Linked DNA regions of Homo sapiens: region 1 is linked to region 2. The links are contacts of gene promoters, found by promoter capture Hi-C in human tissues and cell types (Jung and others, 2019). All regions are on one chromosome and are shown on one strand. The core of a region is centred on a gene start or on the middle of the fragment in contact, and the rest is flanking DNA. Distances in the headings are between cores, read along the strand shown. Region 1 holds the start of MSL1 (MSL complex subunit 1). Region 2 holds the start of IGFBP4 (insulin like growth factor binding protein 4).

What was found. The method cuts DNA at HindIII sites, captures the fragments that hold promoters and counts their contacts. A contact is called where the count stands out against the background at its distance.
Region 1: a contact is called between the fragment with the promoter of MSL1 here and the fragment with the promoter of IGFBP4 in region 2, in 1 of the 25 tissues and cell types used here (ovary).

The regions. Positions count from the first base shown.
Region 1 is chr17:40,118,779-40,123,516 of GRCh38, reverse strand. MSL1 (MSL complex subunit 1) reads right to left here and starts at 1,546. Exons shown (of 9, transcript NM_001365919.1): 1 at 137-1,546. The coding sequence starts at 904. LOC124904001 (a long non-coding RNA gene) reads left to right here and starts at 1,677. Exons shown (of 2, transcript XR_007065752.1): 1 at 1,677-1,733; 2 at 2,104-2,988. RefSeq lists an enhancer at 67-705 and silencers at 406-855, 906-955, 1,056-1,195, 1,256-1,465, 1,506-1,705 and 1 more. The HindIII fragment of the contact is 12,972 bases long and covers 1-4,738 here.
Region 2 is chr17:40,440,395-40,444,860 of GRCh38, reverse strand. It overlaps IGFBP4 (insulin like growth factor binding protein 4), which reads right to left and starts at 1,411. Exons shown (of 4, transcript NM_001552.3): 1 at 777-1,411. The coding sequence starts at 1,125. RefSeq lists silencers at 1,205-1,254, 1,265-1,314, 1,325-1,514 and an enhancer at 3,561-3,610. The HindIII fragment of the contact is 6,489 bases long and covers 1-4,466 here.

The DNA.
Region 1 (4,738 bases), core at 297-2,796, 320 kb after region 2:
CCTAAGATACTCCTTTGCCGGTGGCCAACCTCCTTTACCCCTAACCCGGGGGTGCCTTAACCTCCTACAGCCCCCTTCCCCCGAGCATGCGCACAACTCGCTCCTCGGCCCGAATGCAGATTAACCCCTCCCGTACCGTGTCTCTCTCTGACTTCAGCTCCTCGATCTCCTTTTCCTTGGCCTGCAGCTGCTGCTGCTGCTGTTCGATGAGGTCCAATTGCAGCAGAAGGATCTGTTTGAGGCAGGCGGCCTGACTGGAGGCTCCCGAGCCGCCACCACCCCCGAGAGGGCTCTTCCTCATACTCTTCCATCTGCCCTCGCTGGCCGCCAGGGTCCCGGCGGTGGCGGTGGGCGCGAGGGGTGGCGGCCCGGGCAGAGGTAGTGGTGGGGGTCCCGCCGGGTCCGAGGCGGTGGCAGCGGGGGAGGCCGCCCCACCCTTGTCCCCAGCCCAGGGCGTAGGCTCTTTGGCCGCCGCCACGAGAGAGCCCGTCTGAATGGGCAGCACCGCCTGATACTTGGGCCGGGGGCTGCAGCCGGCTCCGGCTGCGGCAGGCTCCCCCCCAATGCCGGCTTGCTTGGTGGCCGGGGGCGGACAGGGCAAGGGCACCGAACCGCCCCAGCTCTCTTCCTGCTGCCCGGGGGCCGCCCCGGCCGGGAGTAACAAGCCCCGGCCCTTGCCGCCGCAGCCGGCCGGGGAAGGCGCGGGGCTCCCGCCCTGGGAGGAGGCCAGCGGGGGCCCCGGCTCCTTGAGCTTACGGTGCCGGGGGAGGAAGTGGGCTTCGGCCGCCCCAGGCTCGTCCTCGGGCCCGCCCAGCGCCGCAGCCCGCTCGTAGTCCAGTCGCTGCTCAGGATTGCCGCCGGCAGGGGCCGCGGCCGCCTTGAACACCGCGGATCTCATGGTCATAGTGGTCCGGAGCAGCGCCGGGCACCGAGGCGGAGGAGGGGGTGGGGAAGGGGCGAGGTGCGGGGGGTCGAGGACTGAGGGGGGGGAGGGGAGTTTGGCGGGCTCGCCTCAGCAGCGCGGCAGCAGGCCTCCGCTAGCGCGGCTCCTCCGGGGCCCGGGCGCCATCCCGCCGGCGTGCGGAGACGTGGAGGCCGCGGCTGAGGCCCGCCGCCGGCCCATGGGGGCCTCGCCGCCGCCTCTGCTGCCGCCGCCGCCGCCTTCGCCTCAGAGGCAGGAGCTCGCACCCAGCCGCCCCCGAGCTCATCCCCGGAGCTCGCTTCGGCCCCCCCTGGCCCGGCCGGGCCCGCCTCGTCTCCCCACCCCGCACCCCCCCTTCCCCGCCCCGGCCCCCCGCCCCGGAGCTCGCCTCAACCGCCCCGAGCCTCCATTTCCCCCCCCTCCTCCTCAGGAGGGGGTGGAGGGCTGGGTCCGCCCAAAGCCCTCCTACTCCGGGAGAGGGGGTCTGTCGCCTCTCCCGGGGGTCTCCGCGGCTCGGGGTCCCCCTCCCCCACAGTCACCCCCGGCGCCTCAGCGTTTCCCTTTAAAAAAACGGAGCCGCTCGTAGCCGCCACCGCCGCAGCCGCCGCCAACCGGAGGACGCATGCGCGGGGAGGGGAGCGGGCGGGAGTGCACCGGGAGCCGAGAGGAGGGAGGCGGGCCGCGCTATTGTGAAAGGGGCCGCCGCCGCCTCGAGGGGGGCAGGGAGGGGACCGCGGGGGCCGGGGGCCGGCGAGGGGAGGCCGGGGCTGAGGGGCGAGGACCGAGGAGCGCGCGGAGGAGCGGGGTGAAGGTGGGCTGCCGAGGGAGGGGCGAGCCGGGGGAGGGTCTGGAGGGGGAAGAAGGGCGAGGGCGGCCGCGGGAAGAAGGGGAAAGCGGAGGCTCCCCGGGAAAAAAGCGCGAGAGAATGGAGTTGAGAGGAAAGAAGGAGGATACAGGCGGCCAATGTGTGGCCTACGTGGGAGCGCCCCGAGCGCTCCACGTCCCCGGCCTGCGCCGGGCGGCCCCTTCCCCGGGCATCTTGGCAACGCGCCTGGCCCAAGCCGGAGGGGCCCCGCGGCCCCGCACGCCTCCTGGACCAGTCAGGATCCAGGCTCCTCTTTGAGCCCGCGGGTGTTTCATGGGGGTAGAAGTCTAACCCCTCCACCCCCTCTCCTCCCCAGCAGTCCCACGCGGGTATGGGAGAGAATGAAGTTCTTTGTCTCTAAGGGATTCAAACCAGAAACGGAGGGACCTCTGGTTCCCAGAGGGAGGAAAATCCATGATGTCTGCTGCCCAGGGAGCTATTGCCACCGCCTCCTTGGGATGAAGTATTGCCAGCTACCAACAGTTCCTTCCCAACGGCCATCTTCCAGCCTTCTTAAACGACTCCTAGCATCTTCGGGAGGCTCCTGAAGGACTGAAGCAAAGGAAATCTCTGAAGGGATTTAGTCCTTGAAAGGGAGTAGGGATACTTAGGGTGTTCTGTGTTGAGCGCTTCTTCCTATCTCTCCAGCTTCATGTATGTGTGTCTTTATGTCCAAGCAATTGAGCCAACAAGTCCTCAGAATTCCTTGTGAAAAAAACGTTTTTTTTTTTTGAGACGGATTCTCACTCTGTCGCCCAGGCTGGAGTGCAATGGTGAAATTCAGCTCACTGCAACCTCCGCCTCCGGGGTTCAAGCGATTCTCCTGCCTCAGCCTCCCGAGTAGCTGGGATTACAGTCACGCGCCACCACGCCCAGCTAATTTTGTATTTTTAGTAGAGACAGGATTTCTCCTTGGTCAGGCTGGTCTGGAACTCCCGACTTCAGGTGATCCGCCCGCCTCGGCCTCCCAAAGTGGTGGGATTACAGGTGTGAGCCACCGTGCCCAGCCCTGAAATAGTCTTAATTGCTTGTTTTTCTTTTTTGTCTGAGGTGTGCTTTTTAAAATCTCTATGGAGATGGAGAAGACTGACATTCTCTGGCCTGATGTGAAAACCTCTCATTAAAACTGTGTCTGTGCTTTGTGGGCTGAAAGCATGAAACACTGGAAATTTTAAACAAACGTATGTGAATGTGTTAAGAAGCCAAGAGTCCGGCCCTCTTTCACCAGACTGTATGGCCTCAGATCAGCAAGGGAAGTATTGAGCTTAGGGACACCAAGTAATGGAGTGAGCAGGGATGAGAGGGCACATAGAATGTGGTGATCTCTTTCCATGTCAAGGCTTGTGTGTTTGTGGCACTGGGGTCTTGCTGTGTCCCCAAGGCTAGAGTACAGTGGCACAATTATGGTTCACTGCAGCCTCAACCTCCAGGGCTCAAGTGATCCTCCCACCTCAGTCTCCTAAGTAGCTGGGACAACAGGCTTGGGCTGCCACACCTGGCTAACTTTTTATTTTTTTGTAGAGACGGGCCTTTGTAATACCAGCCTTTGTTGCCCAGGCTGGTATTGAACTCGCTCAAGCGATCCTCCCACCTGGGCGTCCCAAAGTGCTGGGATTATAGGAGTGAGCCACTGTGCCCAGCCTTCAGCGTCAAGACTTTCTGCACCATCTCTACGCTGACAGCTCCGTAATTTATATTTCTTTCTGGACTCATCCCCTAACTCCAGAATCATATATCCAACTGTCTAGTATACATACCCAGTTGGATGTCTAATAGGTATTTCTTTTTTTTGAGGTGGAGTCTTGCTCTGTTGCCCAGGCTGGAGTGCTGGAGTGCAGTGGCACGATCTCGGCTCACTGCGAGCTCCTCCCGGGTTCACGCCATTCTGCCTCAGCCTCCCCAGTAGCTGGGACTACAGGCGCCTGCCACTACGCCTGGCTAATTTTTTGTATTTTTTAGTAGAGACGTGGTTTCACTGTGTTAGTCAGGATGGTCTCATCTCCTGACCTCGTGATCTGCCCGCCTCGGCCTCCCAGAGTGCTGGGATTACAGGTGTGAACCACCGCGCCCGGCCTAGGTATTTCAAACTTACATCTAAAAATCAAGCTCCCGAATTCCTCCCACCCAAACACCCAAATACCACTTCTACAGTCTTACTCTTTTTTTTTTTTTTTTTTGAGACGGAGTCTTGCTCTGTTGCCCAGGCTGGAGTGCAGTGGCACAATCTCAGCCCACTGCAACCTCTCCACCTCCCGGGTTCAAGCGATTCTCCTGCCTCAGCCTCCAGAGTAGCTGGGATTACAGGCATGCACCACCATGCCCAGCTAATTTTTGTATTTTTAGTAGAGACGGGGTTTCACCATGTTGGTCAGGCTGGTCTCAAACTCCTGACCTCATGATCCGCTCACCTCAGCCACCCAAAGCTGGGATTACAGGCGTAAGCCACCGCGCCCAGCCCAGTCTTCCTCTCTTTGTCACCCCATTGCCTTTCAAAATGTATGTCCAAGGCTGGACGTCGTGGCTCGTGCCTGTTACCCCAGCACTCTGGGAGGCCGAGGTGGGCGGATCACAAGGTCAGGAGATCGAGACCATCCTGGCTAACATGGCGAAACCCCGTCTCTACTAAAAATACAAAAAATTAGCCAAGCATGGTGGCGGGCGCTTGTAGTCCCAGCTACTCGGGAGGCTGAGGCAGGAGAATGGCGTGAACCCAGGAGGCAGAGCTTGCAGTGAGCCGAGATCGCGCCACTGCACTCCAGCCTGGCGACAGAGTGAGAGTCCGTCTCAAAAAAAAAAAAAAATTTAGCCGAGCCTGGTGGCAGGGGCCTGTAGTCCCAGCTACTCGGGAGGCTGAGGCAGGAGAATGGGGTGAACCCGGGAGGCAGAGCTTGCAGTCAGCCGAGATCCCACCACTGCACTCCAGCCTGAGTGACAGAGGGAGACTCCATCTC
Region 2 (4,466 bases), core at 162-2,661:
CTGTTTCTCTCCCCTGGCGCCCTGGCCCCTTCTCTATTCCCTATCCCACACACATGAGGCTCCTGCAGCTCTCGGCTAGGAGCCAAGACTTTTCTACCACCTCAAATCCTACCTGCCTGGAGAAAAGAACAGGGGGCCTGTATACCAGGGCAGGCAGAGGTGTCCAGGCCTGGCAGAGGGACCCCTGTCTTCCCACTGCCTCTCAAACAACAAGGTGACCTGGCTCTGGGCTTTGGGGAAGGGCAAGTCTAATGCCCCTCAACGCCAAAGTCCCTCTAATTTGTATGTCCCACTCCACCACTGGACCATGTAAAAAAAAAGTTCAGGCCCTGGCTCCCCAGACCACTGGGATTTCACCCTCGGCCTGGATCAGGAACAGAAAGCTTTCCCCACTCCCTCATCCTCCCCAACACACACCCCACCACCATCCTCCAGTTCTCTGGCCCTAGACAGCTGACTTAACTGGACCTTAATCTGCCACTCCTGCACCAGCAGCCAGGCCTCCCACTGGGACCCCCTTATCAAACAGACAACCCTTGGAGGTTTGAGATGGAGCGATGGGACAGTCTCCCTTGGTGGTGGCAACAGGCTGCTAGGGACTCGGTAGCAGTTTCCTTGATGAGCCTGTCCCATGCCAGTCGGGCCCTGCCACGTACCTGCCTTCTCTTCAACTCATAGGGGATTTTTAAGGGCCTTCCAGGGCGGCTGGAATGGGGAAGAAGCCGCTGGGAAGGGAGCGCACTCAGGAGGGAATTGGGAGGCCAGGGGTACCTTACCAGAGGGCTGCAGGCTTTCCTGGATGGCCTCGATCTCCGCCAGCTCCATGCACACGCCTTGCCCGTGCATCAGTGTGTGCAGGGGCTTCTCCACCCCTCGGGGCGGGTAGCAGCGCAGGCCCGAGCCGCAACGGGGGGTGTACACCCCGCAGGGCATCCCCAAGCCCAGGGCGCAAGTGGCGCAACAGCCGCAGCCCGGCTCTCGCACCAGCTCCTCGCAGCCCACGGGGGGGCGGCAGCGCGCCAGCTTCTCCTCGGAGCAGGGCGGGCAGTGGATGGCTTCGTCGCCCAGGCTCGGCCCGGGCCCGGCGGCCAGCAGCAGGGCGGCCACGAGGCAGAGGGGCAGCATGACCGCCCGAGGACTGGGCGCGGGCGCGGGGCGCTGGGCGCAGGCGGGGAGCGCGGGCGCGCGGGCGAGCGGCGGAGGGCACACGGCGGCAGCGCCTGGCGCTCCTGGAGGACCCGACCCGGAGGGCGCGGGGAGACGGGGCGGCCCGGCGGGCGAACGGGGACGTAGCGGGGGAAGTTAGCAGGCGTGCCGGAGGGGAGCAAGCCTGGCCGCCGAGGCGCTGCGCCGCATCCTCGGCCCGGCCCAGGCAGGCGGCGGGCGGCGAGGGGCAGGGGGCTGAGCGGCTGCCCGGGACCGGCTCCCCCGGACTTTATACCGGTCCCTGGCCACACCCCCAGCGCCTTCCCAGAGGTGGGGGAGCCGGGGCGGGCGAGGGGGAGAGGGAGAGGCGGCCGTTAGGGGGAGGGGGCGCTGTCCTGAGTCGCCGCCGCCGCCGCCGCCGCATCTGAAAGTCCTTTTCTGCCGAAGAAGGAAGCGGCGCAGTTTGGAAGCTGTAGCAGGCGCCCAGAGTGCCTCTGAACCGGAGCCCCGGAGGGGAGGCAAGGGAGAAGGGAAGCCAAGGGGCTGCTGCGGGGCCCCCTTTCCCGACCTCGGAGGAGTCTCGTCCCGCCCCGCCAAGGCGGCCTCAGTCTCCCACCGAGAAAGGGACTTCCTAGCCCGGACTCCCGGCTCTGCGGATCCGGTCTTCCTGGACAGAGCCCTTTCCACCGCACCCCGGTGCTTCCAGCCTCAACCGCTGGAGACCAAGCCTCCTGAGGTGGGGTAAAGCGTACAGGCACAGCTAGGGGCACAGAAAGGCCTGGAGGCCCTAAGACGTTAACAGGCTCTTGCCACTTGCCCCTTGCAACCTCTCCCGCCCCCGCAATCTCCCCAGGGCGCATTTGGGCCCTGGTCCACCCTGCTTCCCCAAGATGGAATCAGCAGAACTCCCGGGGAGGGAGGTGCCGCCGAGCCTCTTCCTCCTTCTTGGATGTTTGCCTCTCAGGCCCATTCAGACCCACTCGTGGAGGGAGGCAGGCCTGGGAGATTGCCACTTGCAATGTGCAAGTTTTGCGTTGAACAACTCCAGTGGGGCACCATTCCTTGTAATCATTGTGTATTTGTAGAGCTGTTGTGATCATTTCCCAGATGGCAGTGAAGGATTTGAGGGGCCTGCAGCAGTGACTCACACCTGTAATGTCAGCACTTTTGGAGGCTGAGGCGGGAGGATCACTTGAGCCCAGGAGTTCAAGACCAGTCTGGGCAACGTAGTGAGACCTTGTCTCTACAAAAAAATTTTAAAATTAGCCAGGTGTGGTGGCGTTCACCTGTGGTCCCAGGTACTCGGGAGCCTGAGGCAAGAGGATCACTTGAGCCCAGGAGTTGGAGGCTGCAGTGAGCTAGAATTGTACCACTGCACACCAGCCTAGGTGAAAGAAGGAAACTCTGTCTAAAAAAGAAAGAAAGAAAGAAGGCCGGGCGCGGTGGCTCACGCCTGTAATCCCAGCACTTTGGGAGGCCGAGGCGGGCAGATCACGAGGTCAGGAAATCGAGACCATCCTGGCTAGCACGGTGAAACCCCCTCTCTACTAAAAATACAAAAAGTTAGCCGGGCGTGGTGGCGGGTGCCTGTAGTCCCAGCTACTAGGGAGGCTGAGGCAGGAGAATGGCATGATCCCGGGAGGTGGAGCTTGCAGTGAGCTGAGATTGCGCCACTGCACTCCAACCTGGGCGACAGAGCGAGACTCCATCTCAAAAAAAAAAAGAAAGAAAGAGAAAAAAGAAGGCCAGGCGTAGTGGCTCATGCCTGTAATCCTAGCACTTTGGGAGGCCAAGGTGGGCAGATCACCTGAGGTCAGGAGTTTGAGACCAGTCTGGCCAACACGGTGAAACCCCATCTCTACTAAAAATACAAAAATTAGCCGGGCGTGGTGGCGCATGCCTGTAATCCCAGCTACTTGGGAGGCTGAGGCAGAAGAATCGCTTGAACCCCAGGAGGAGGAGGTTACAGTGATCCAAGATCATACCACTGCACTCCAGTCCAGGTGACAGAGCAAGACTCTGTCTCAAAAAAAAAAAAAAAAAAGAATTTTAAGGAAGGGATGCTTTTTTAATTCACCCAGTGTTGCTACTTGGGCTAGTGTTGGGCCTGGCTTGACCCTCTGTAAAATCCTATTGATCCCTATTCCCCCAGCCTTGCCCAATCCTGCCCAAATTGAGAAGAGCCCTGGAGTGGCATTTGGAGCAAAGATCCATCTCCTAGGTTCCCTCTCAGGCCCCCGCTAATTCCCACCCATTCTTCCCTACAAAGGCTTCTGCTGTACTGGAGCTGGTTTCAGGTTAAGCGTACCTGTCCAGGAATAATCAGTAACCCACTGTGGATTTTTTTTTTTTTTTGTCTCGGCCTAGAAAGCTGCAGGTCAGCCAAGCTGAAATGCAGTTCAGAGACCCTCTTCCTGCTTCTTCCCCCAGGACAGGGGTCTTTCAGCCTCACGGGGATTGGGCTACCTCCTACTTACTGAGAGATGATTGCAGGGAGATTGGGACTGGCAGCCGGACCTGCAGGACAGACCAAAAAGTTGCAAACTGACGGCACCTACTGGCAACCATCAAGACTGCAGAAGGGCTGGAAAGTGATGGCTGGGGCCAAGATTCTGGGGTTCTCTCCATTCCATCTCATAGATGAAGTGGGGACCCTTCTGCCCCATATGCCTTGGAGAAGGGCAAACAGAACCAGCTTCCTCAAGTCCCTGGGGAAGCCCAGCCTGTGCCTGATTCAGAAAACTGCCCCCAGGCCGGGCATGGTGGCTCACGGCTGTAATTCCAGCACTTAGGGAGGCCAAGGCGGGTGGATCATGAGGTCAGGAGATCGAGACCATCGTGGCTAACACGGGGAAACCTCGTCTCTACTAAAAATAAAAAAAATTAGTCAGGCGTGGTGGCACGTGCCTGTAGTCCCAGCTACTCAGGAGGCTGAGGCAGGAGAATCGCTTGAACCCAGGAGATGGAGGTTGTAGTGAGCCGAGATCACACCACTGCACTCCAGCCTAGGCAACAGAGCAGGATTCAGTCTCAAAAAAAGAAAAAAAGAAAAGAAAACGTTCCCCACCCCATCTCCTTCCTTGATCATCACTGGACCCTGTTCTGCCACCAACTTGCGTGAACTTGGAGTTTGACTGACCTTAGCTGTAACATGGAGGTAGATCATCTCCACCCATCCTACCTCTTGAAGCTCTTGTGAGAGTAAAATGAATGGAGAAGAGTAGTTCTGCTCCCAATGCCAGACATGTGCCCTGTTCAGCAAGCCCAAGAGGAGAAAAGGTGCCAGGACACAGAGGCAGGAGTGCAGGAGAGGCCGGACA